Linked DNA regions of Homo sapiens: region 1 is linked to region 2. Evidence: promoter capture Hi-C in human tissues and cell types (Jung and others, 2019). All regions are on one chromosome and are shown on one strand. Each heading gives the region's core, a stretch centred on a gene start or on the middle of the fragment in contact. The rest is flanking DNA. Distances are from core to core; before and after follow the strand shown.

Region 1 (5,493 bases), core at 2,912-5,411, 120 kb before region 2:
CCCACGTTGGAGTGCAGTGGCGCGATCTCGGCTCACTGCAATCTCCGCCGCCAGGATTCAAGCGATCCTCGTGCCTTAGCCTCTTGAGTAACTGGGACTACAGGTGCGTGCCACCACGCCCGACTAATTTTTTTGTATTTTTAGTAGAGATGGGGTTTCACCATGTTGGCCAGTCTGGTCTTGAACTCCTGACCTCAGGTGATCTGCCCGCCTCGGCCCTCCACAGTGCTGGGATTATAAGCGTTAGCCACCACACCCAGCCTGTATTTTCATTTTCAATCAATTCAGTGTATTTTTAAAAATTTCTTTTAAGACCTCTTTTTGACTTATAGATTATTTAGTAGTGTGTTGATTAGTTTCTAAGTGTTTGGATATTTTCTTGCTACCCTTCTGTTATAAATGTCTAGTTTGATTCAACTATGTCCAGTAACACACTCTATATGACTTCGATTTTTGAAAGGTTGTTTGAGATTTGTTTTATGACCAGGAATGTGGTCTGTCCTGGTGTAGGTGCCATGGGTATTTGAAAAGAATGTATATTTTGCTGTTGCTAGGTAGAGTGCTCTATATATTTTGAGTAGATCCTGTTGTCTAATTGTGTTGTTGAATTTTTCTTTATCCTTGCTGGTTTTCTATCTAGTTGTTTCATCAGCTGTTGGGAGAAGGTTTTGAAGTATTTGAGTATAATTATAGATTTCTTTATATCTCCTTTCAGTTCAGTCAGTTTTTCCTTCACATGTTTTGCAGCTCTGTTGTTTTGTGCATGCACATTTAGGATTGCTATGTATTTTTAGTGGGTTGACCATTTTATCATTAGGTAATGTTTCTTTCTCTCTCTGGTAATTTTATTTTCTGTGAAATCTGCTTTGATGTTAATATAGCCACTCCTGCTTTCTTTTGATTAATGCTTGCATTACATATCTTTTTCCATCCTTTTCAACATGCATGTATCATTATTTTTAAAGTGAGTTTCAGGTAGACAGCATATTATTGGGTGATGTTTTTTAATTCATTCTGCCAGTCTCTGTGTTTTAATTGGCATATTTAAATCATTTATACTTAAGCTTGCCATTTTAAACTTTGTTTTCTATTTGTTTTCACTATTTTTGTTTCTGTTACTTGAGTAATTTTTTGAAGTCCTTTTTGATTTTTTGTAGTGTTTTGAGTGTATGTCTTTGTATAGTTTTCTTACTGATTGCTGTAGGCATTGTATTATATATGCAGTCTACTAGTATACTTTACCAGTTCAGACTAGAAATGTTACCTCCTTTTATGTCCCTTTATCCTCCCTTATTTTTAATATGCTCATCTTAAATATTTCCTCTGAATACATTTAGAACCGGGTTGGACAATTATAATTTTTCTTCAACCACTGAATATAATTTAGAAAACTCAAGAGAAGGAAGTTTATTGTATTTACCCTTATATTTGTTTACCATGTTGTTTCTTCCTTCTTGATGTTCCAAGGTTCCTTTTCTTATCATTTCCCTTCTGTTAAGACAGCTTCCTTTAGTCACTCTTCAAGAGTAGGTCTGCTAGCAATAAATTCCCGTTGTTTTCCTTCATGTGAGGCTGTCTTGATTTCCTGTTTCATTCCTGAAGGGTATTTTTGCTGGATGTAGGATTTTGGGTTGATGGCTCTTTTCTTTCAGCACTTGAAAAATGTGTTCCTTCCTTTTGGCCTCCATTGTTTCTGATGAGAAATCTGTGTCTTTCATATTATTTCCCCCAATGGTATCTCCTTAGTTGCTTTCAAGATTTTTTAGTGTTGTTTTAACTCAATTACCTCTGCAAAGAAAAAAAAAGATTTTGTTGTTGTTGTTTTAGTTTTCAGAAGTTTGACTACGATGTGTCTTGTTGTAGATTTCTTTGGGTTTATTCTCTTTGGAGTTTGTTCAGCTTCTTAAATCTGTACACTTATGTACAGATTCCTCAGCTTGCCGAGTAGCTGGGATTACAGGTGCCCACCACCATGCCTGGATAATTTTTGTATTTTTAGTAGAGACAGGGTTTCACCATGTTTGCCAGGCTTGTCTCGAACTCCTGACCTGAAGAGATCCATCCACCTTGGCCTCCCAAAGTGCTGGGATTACAGGTGTGAGTCACCGTGCCTGGCCCTAGTTCACTTATGCTTTCCCCTTTCTTCTCCATTCTGCTGTTGAGCCCATCGCTTAGTTTTAGTTTTTTTATTTCAATTATTGTGTTTTTCAGTTCTATAATTTCCATTTTGTTCCTCTTTATATCTTCTGTTTCTTTGCTGAGAATTTCAGTGTTTTCACTTGTTTCAAGCATGTTCATAAATGCTTGCTTAAACAATTTGATGACGGCTACTTTAAAATCTTTGTCAGATAATTTTAACATTTTTGTCATTGACATTAGCATCTGTTAATTATCATTTCTCATTTGATTTGTGATCTTCCTAGTCTTGGTACGATGAGTAATTTTTAGTTGAAACCTGGACATTTTGTGTATTATGTTATGAGACTCTGGATTTTTTTTAAACCTGATGTGTTAACTGGCTTCCTTTGACAGCACTCTGACAGTGAAACGGTGGGTTGTAATGCTGCTTCATTAATGCCAGGTAAAGGTAGAAGTCCAGGTTCCCTATTTAGCCTTTATTGACATGGGGGGCGGGGACGGGGCAGGAATGGGAGTTCCAGCTCTCAACTAGGCTTTCACTGATACCTCTTTGGCTGGAAAAGGTAGGAGTGCTTGTTGCCACTTGGTGGTGGTAAAATCCCGATTCTTCACGAGATCCTCCTCTGTCATCACCCCATTGAGGAGGAGTATAGTCACTTTGTTACTGCTGGATAGGGGTAGAAGTCAGGGTCCACATGTAGTCTCTACTGATATCACTGAGGTGGAGCCTCATTTTCACCATGTTGTGTAAAAATTCCAGCTGGCCAACATGGTGAAACTCTGTCTCTACTAAAAATACAAAAATTAGCTGGGCATGGTGGTGGGCGCCTGTAGTCCCAGCTACTCGGGAGGCTGAGGCAGGACAATCGCTTGAACCTGGAAGGCGGAGGTTGCAGTGAGCCAAGATCACACCACTGCACTCCAGCCTGGTGACAGAGCAAGACGCCATCTCAAAAAAAAAAAAAAAACAGATTTCAGCTTCCTACTTGGCCTTTTCTAACACTATCCCAGCAAGATGGCTGGGGGGCATCTCGTTACATCCTGGCAAGAGTGAAAATCTAGGCTCTGCCTTCAGCCTTTGCTGGCATGTCTATAGGGGTGTGGCCATAGTTTTTTCTGGGTTGTTTAGCTGAAGTAGGGCAATTCTTGTTTAAAAGCTTTCAGTCTTGTTAACTACTCCTTTTGTCATCCTTTGGCTAGAGAGAACACGTTCATTAGGGCTTTTTTTTTTTTTTGTCTTCACCTGTTGACATTCTTGTTTGCCAACTTTGCCAGCTCTAAGTCTGGGATATAGGAGACAAAAACAAAGCCCAGAGAACTCGTTAACATGTGGTTCCTTGGGTCCCCAGGTCCCTAGTTAGTGTGCTACCTTCTGTCCAACTTAATGTCCATGGTTTTTAGTTATATTTAGCTGGATAAATAGGGAAATGTATGTCTATGCCATCTTTCTGGAGTCAGAAGTCTACCTGACTGTCTTTTAATGGAGATACAGACAGTGATTCCATTATCTTTTATTGTTGCATTTTAGTTAATAATGAAAACTAACATTTCTCAAGTACACAGTATGTGCCCAGGTACTGTTCTAAGTGCTTTAAGTGCTTTTCGTGTGTTGAGTCATTTAATTCCCTTAAAACTTTATGAAATAGTTACTAGTATTATTCTGTCTTATCAGATGAGGAAACCGAGACATAGAAAAGATAAGAAACAAGCCCCAAATTACTGACAAATCCGTGGTTAAACCCCTGGCTCTCTGACTCCATAAGCCCACTCTAATACTCATGGCCTAGGATAAATCTCAAATCTATATGCTTTCCATTATAACAACTTTTTTTTTTTGGAAACTTATCACAGTTTTTCTATCCTAGAATTCAGAAATTTTACTAGGATCTGTCCAAATATAGGTCTTATTTTTAAAATAATTCTCTCTAGAACCCAGTGTATCCATTTCATCAGAAAGCTTAGGTCTTTCTACTGATCAGTGACATGTTTTTAAAATTTTTAATCTTTCCTCTCATCCACCCACTCAAGAAAAGATTTTGCAGAAGGTGTTTCATGTGGTCATAAAGATACTCAATAAATAACAAAGAAGTTAGTTCCTTCTAATATGTCAAAAGCTTTCTCTTTTAGAGATAGTCTTGCTTTGTCACCCAGGCTGGAGCGTAGCAGTGATATCATAGCTCACTGTAACCTTGAATTCCTGGGCTCAAGTGATCCTCCCATCTTAGCCTCCAGAGTAACTAGTACTACAAGCACATGCCACCATGCCCAACTAATTTTTTAATTTTTATTTTTATTTGTACAGGTGGGGTCTCCCTGTGTCTCCCAGGCTGGTCTCAAATCCCTGGCCTCGAGCAGTCCTCCCACCTCAGCCTCCCAAAGTACTGGGGTTACAGGCATGTACCACTGCACCCAGCCCCTTTCTGAGCATTTTTTTTTTCCTTTGAGATGGAGTCTTGCTCTGTCCCAGGCTGGAGTGCAATGGTGCGATCTCAGCTCACTGCAACCTCTGCCTCCCAGGTTGAAGCTAATCTGCCTCAGCTTCCTGAGAAGCTGGGATTACAGGCGCACGCCACCAGGCCCATCTAATTTTTGTATTTTTTAGTAGAGACGGGGTTTCACCACATTAGCCAGGCAGGTCTCGAACTCCTGACCTCGTGATCTGCCCACCTGGGCCTCCCAAAGTGCTGGGATTACAGGCGTGAGCCACCGCACCCAGCCACCTGTTACATTTTTTATTCTTTCTTTCTTTTTTTTTTTTTTTTTTTTTTGTTGCCAGGCTGGAGTGCAGTGGCGCAATCTCGGCTCACTGCAACTTCCGACTCCATGGTTCAAGGGATTCTCCTGCCTCAGCCTCCCGAGTAGCTGGGATTACAGGCATGCGTCACCACGCTCAGCTAATTTTTGTATTTTTATAGAGACAGAGTTTCACCATATTGGCCAAGATGGTCTCGATCTCCTGACCTCGTGATCTGCCCGCCTCAGCCTCCCAAAGTGCTGGGATTACAGGCATGAGCCACTGCACCCGGCACTTCTGAGCATTTTTGAAGCAAAACTAGAATATTGACTCCTGGGAAGATGATATGGTATTGTCCAGGGAACAGGAACTGGTCTAAGAAGAATGTGGCTACCAAGCATGCTTTGAGGAATGCTACTGCAGCCCCATTTAGCTGTGGTGTATTGTGTTAAACTCAGGTCATGTAGGCATCCAAATCTCAAGTAATCTGTCCCTCTTAGAACTTCTTGGTTCTAAGATTGCTGATAAAATACTCAAATCTTCTTGTCTTTTTTTTTTGTTTTGGTTTGATTTTAATAAACTGACTGGGTGGTTTGAAATTTAGGCTGAGGCTAGAGATT
Region 2 (4,733 bases), core at 1,092-3,591:
AAGGTCAAGGAGGTGGCAGGGGCCACTCATGTAGAGTGCTGTAGGAAAGGACTCTGGGTTTTAGTTGGAGTGAAACAGGGAACCACTGGAAGGTTCCGGCAGGGAAAGAAGAGGATCTGATTTACATTAAAGACTTCTCTGGTGGTTGTGAGGACTTTGGAGGGGCCAGGATGAAAACTGGGAGACCAGTAAGGAGGCCACAGCCCAGGAGACAGGATGACTATGGTCAGGATGGGAACCACAGAGATGGCAGGAGGCAGCCAGATTCCTGGTGTTTTGAGGGTGTAGGAGATAAGGGAGAGAAAAGAAGCATGACTCCTTGGGCACTGGGTGGATGGAAGGTGCCCTTTTACCAGGCCAGAGAAGCCAGGGGAGGAGCAGTGGCTCAGAAGGGACTCCAGAACTCAGTTCGGAACAAGTGAAGTTTGAGATGCTATTGGATTCCAAGTGGGTTGTCAGGGAGGGAAGGAGGCAGGAGAGGACCAAGTGGGCATCAGGCAGGCATGAGACCTCTCTCAGGAGGCAGTGCTGTAGAGCAGACAGCACCTAAAAGCTGTTGGGCCACCAGACCTTCCTCACAGGGGAAGCAGTCCTGTCACTGGCCTCAGAGCCTCACATGCATGAGTTGCTTTGCCAGCCAGCAGGCCCTGCTACATTCCTCGTGGGGCAAGTACTAATGACAGGTCAGGAGAATCAGGAAGGTGAGGCGGGGGTCCTCTGAGCCTTCAAGAAATTAGCAAAGAACAACTCTATGGGAGTTAATAGATCCCTTTCTCGGCCGGGCGCGGTGGCTCACGCCTGGAATCCCAGCACTTTGGGAGGCCGAGGCAGGCAGATCACTTGAGGTCAGGAGTTTGAGACCAGCCTGGCCAACATGGTGAAACCCCGTCTCTACTAAAAATGCAAAAATTAGCCAGGCATGGTGGCACACACCTGTAGTCCCAGCTACTCAGGAGGCTGAGGCAGGAGAATCTCTAGACCCAGGAGGCAGAGGTTGCAGTGAGCCAAGATTGGACCACTGCGCTCCAGCCTGGGCAAGAGAGTGAGACTCCATTTCAAAAAAAAAAAGACCCCTTTCTCCTTCCTTTCTCATGGCATCAGCCAGGTACCAGAAGGCAGTCAGATGAGGCACTCTTCTGCATTCCAGCTTCAGCCACAGATGGAGGGGAAGGGATGATGTGGCCCAAACAAAAGGAAAGGAAGCCCACATTTGTTCACATTTATGGAGGGCCCATTGTAGACAGGCACATCCTAAGGTTCTTTCAGTTAATCCTTCCCCAATCCCGTGACAGGGAAAGTGTTGCCAAGGTGCACAGCTGGCCAGAGGCTAGCACAGGATTTGAACCCAAAACCTGCTGCCTCACTGCAACTGGTCATACACCTTGCAGGGCACAGAGACCCCTGCAGCGAGACCCACACAGCCACCTGCCTTCAAGCCCAAAGAGGACCCAAGGTCACTTGGCGGGAGGGAGGCTGAGGGTGCACTTAGGTGGAAGCAACATTTAGTCCAGACATTAACCCTGCTTTCACATGGCTGCCACAGGTCCCAGGTCGCTGGCTGTCCTCCTAGATATTTTTGAGGCTTCACGGCTTCCATACAGAGAATCCCTTTTTCGTGTTTTTGGTTTGTTTCATGTTTTCTTGGCACTTCCTTCCCAACTGAGAAGGAAGTAGGTGACAGAGTGTTCCCAATACAGCAAAGTTTCCGACCTGACTGTCCAGAGGCTCTGAGTGCATCCCGGAAATAAACACCCACCCTTCCCAAAGGGACAGGCCTCACAGCCTTGGATCGGATTCCTGGGCGCGACCCAGGTCCGCGGAGGGCGGGGAGGCCGTTTTGAGCTGGTGTCGCCGCCGAGAACTGTCCAGACCCAGCGGAGGGCGGCAGCACTCGACCTCTAGGCGCACCCGGTCGAGGCTCGGCCCCACCTTAGCGTCACCCTGGGCCCGCGGGCGGCAGGAGGAGGTCAGCGGCCGCTGCCCGTCCCCTTCTGGCCCTACCTTTCCCCCAGCCTGAGCAGACGCCCAGCGCCACCTACCCCCTTTTCCCCGGATGCTGGATGCGGCGCCTGGAGCCCTCAGTGTTCCCGAAACTCTTGCGACAGGGCCCGCTCTTCCGGATCCCCGCGCGTCCTGTCCCCTCCTGGGCCCCCCGCGCACCCCAGACCCAGGGCGTCCCGGCGGACTCCGTCCTGCCGCTGCAGCCACCTTCCCTAAAGGCGTCCGTGCGTGCTGAGCCGAAAGGACCCAACGCCCGGGAAGCGATCTTACCTCGGGTACCCCCGGCCCTGAGACCTGGCGACCGCCGCCCGGGGCCCAGGACCCTTCCCGCAGCGAGGAGGCGGGGCGGGCAGAGCGCGCGGCCATTGGCCATGTGGAGGGGCGGGGCTACTCGGCCGCGCGTGGTTGGCTGGCGACGCAGGCGGCTGCGCAGCGGGGACGGTCACTGGGCCTTGGTTTGCGGGTCGGGAAGCGCTAGACTGGGCTCGGAGAACCGACCTGATTTTTTGCTGGGGGCGCGCAGTCTCGAGCAACTTCCAGGGGAAGTCCGGTGTCCGGCCAGAAACCAGGCAGGTGGCCGGCCTCGGAGTCATCGGGGGGCTGAGAATTCCATCCCCACGCTTCCCAAGTGAAGCAGCCCCTCCTCCCCCTGGGAACTTTGAGGGGTGAGGGTCTTCGTGTCGTTCTCTCCGGCACCCCCATGGCCTGGCATACAGTTAGTGCCCAATAAACGTTGGGTGCCGCTGAAGTCACAGGGGCAAGGATGCCTATCCTGGAGACGTGCACGCTGGGCCTGTGGGAGTGGGAGCGGGCGGGGGACTGCTGGGTAGGTAGGCGCAAGGCAGGGACGCCAAGGTTGGCTGGCGGGCAGGCTGGGTATGGGTTGGGTGCTGCGTGGGAGAGGCCTCTTACGCCCAAGGGCCTGGGACAGGTACCTCCCGCAGTTCCTGCCATCTGCCTCGCCCTTCCCCTTCTGGGGCAGAGGCCAGCACTTACTGAGCACCTACGATCTTCCAGGCACAGGGTCTTCTATTCTTTTTTTTTTTTTTTTTTTTTGAGACAGAGTCATGCTCTGTCGCCCAGGCTGGAGTACAATGGCGCGATCTCGGCTCACTGCAACCTCCACCTCCTGGGTTCAAGCAATTCTCCTGCCTCAGCCTCCCAAGTAGCTGAGATTACAGGCACATGCCACTGCGCCCGGCTAATTTTTGTATTTTTAGTAGAGACGGAGTTTCACCATGTTGGCCAGGCTGGTCTCAAACTCCTGACCTCAGGTGATCCTCCCACCTCGGCCTCCCAAAGTGCTGGGATTACAGGCGTGAGCCACTACGCCCAGCCTCAAGTGAGGTTTTATTACTGTACTTTATATCCCTGTGAATATTTCACAACCTTCAGCATTTACAAAGTATGCTTAATCACACCTGAACTGTAATAAAACCAGCTCTGCCTAGTTTAGCCAAGAGGGCATAAATGTTGATTAGTTCAAGAATCAATCCTGCCTGCTCCCCACCGGAGCAGCTCTAGCAGCTTCATATCTAATTCTTTCAGGAAGAACATTGAAAGTGTAGGAGCGGGCTTCCAAGTGCAGCTATCACTCCTGTCTTTGCTGGACCTCAAAGAGCATTCAAACAATCCCACTGCCTGACTAGGTGGTTCCCTGCCACCTATCAACAGCTTTTATAAAGATTTAGACAAAGAAGAACACAACAACATGCTTATGGTATTCCTATCAAAAGCTCATGATCTGAAACTAATCATAGGGAAACAGTAAGCAAACCCAAAACGAGAGACATTTGACAGCTGTCCTATCCAATACAATGGCTACTAGCCACATGTAGCTATTTTAATTAAAATTAAATAATACTTAGAAGCCAGTTCCTGAGACCCACGAGCCACATTTCTCTTTTTTTTTTTTTTTTTTTTTTTTGAAACAGAATCTCACTCTTTCACCCAGGCTGGAGTGCAGTGGCCCAATCTCGGCTCACTGCAACCTCCGCCTCCCGGGTTCAAGTGATTCTCCTGCCTCAGCCTCACGAGTAGCTGGGACTACAGGCGCATGTCACCACGCCCGGCCAATTTTTGTATTTTTAGTAGAGACGAGGTTTCACCATATGGGCCAGGCAGGTCTCAAACTCCTGACCTCAAGTGATCCACCCACCTTGGCCTCCCAAAGTGCTGGGATTACAGGCGTGAGCCACTGCACCTGGCCCATGAGCCACATTTCAAATGCTATTTTCATGTAGCTAATGGCTTCATACTCGGTGACACAGAGCATTTCTATTTTTTTTGTTTGTTTTGTTTTGAGACAGAGTTTCACTCTTGTTGTTGAGGTTGGAGTACAATGGCGTGATCTCGGCTCACCACAACCTCTGCCTCCCAGGTTCAAGCGATTCTCCTGCCTCAGCCTCCCGAGTAGCTGGGATTATAGGCATGCACCACCATGCCCAGCTAATTTTGCATTTTTAGTAGACACGGGGTTTCTCCACCTTGGCCAGGTTGGTCTCAAACTCCCGACCTCAGGTGATCTGCCTGCCTCAGCCTCCCAAAGTTCTGGGATTACAGGTGTGAGCCACAGCGTCAGGCCCAAACAGAGCATTTCTATCATCACTGAAAGTTCTATTGGATAGCACTGCTCTGCAGAATAACTCTTCAAAAATTTCAAGGTCAGGAAAAACAAGGAGACTGAGAGACTGCTCCAGAGAAAAGGACACCAAAGTGACATGACAACTGAA

What was found. Contacts are between HindIII fragments. The study calls those that stand out against the background at their distance.
Region 1: a contact is called between a fragment that was not itself captured here and the fragment with the promoter of MAVS in region 2, in 2 of the 25 tissues and cell types used here (IMR-90 fibroblasts and bladder).

Annotation. Positions count from the first base shown.
Region 1 is chr20:3,967,388-3,972,880 of GRCh38, reverse strand. All of the region lies in intron 1 of RNF24 (ring finger protein 24), which reads left to right. Among named protein-coding and RNA genes, the nearest start is that of RNF24, 45 kb to the left of the region's middle. The HindIII fragment of the contact is 3,961 bases long and covers 2,181-5,493 here.
Region 2 is chr20:3,844,442-3,849,174 of GRCh38, reverse strand. It overlaps MAVS (mitochondrial antiviral signaling protein), which reads right to left and starts at 2,341. Exons shown (of 7, transcript NM_020746.5): 1 at 2,272-2,341. RefSeq lists silencers at 2,065-2,444, 2,875-2,924 and an enhancer at 4,286-4,425. The HindIII fragment of the contact is 19,994 bases long and covers 1-4,733 here.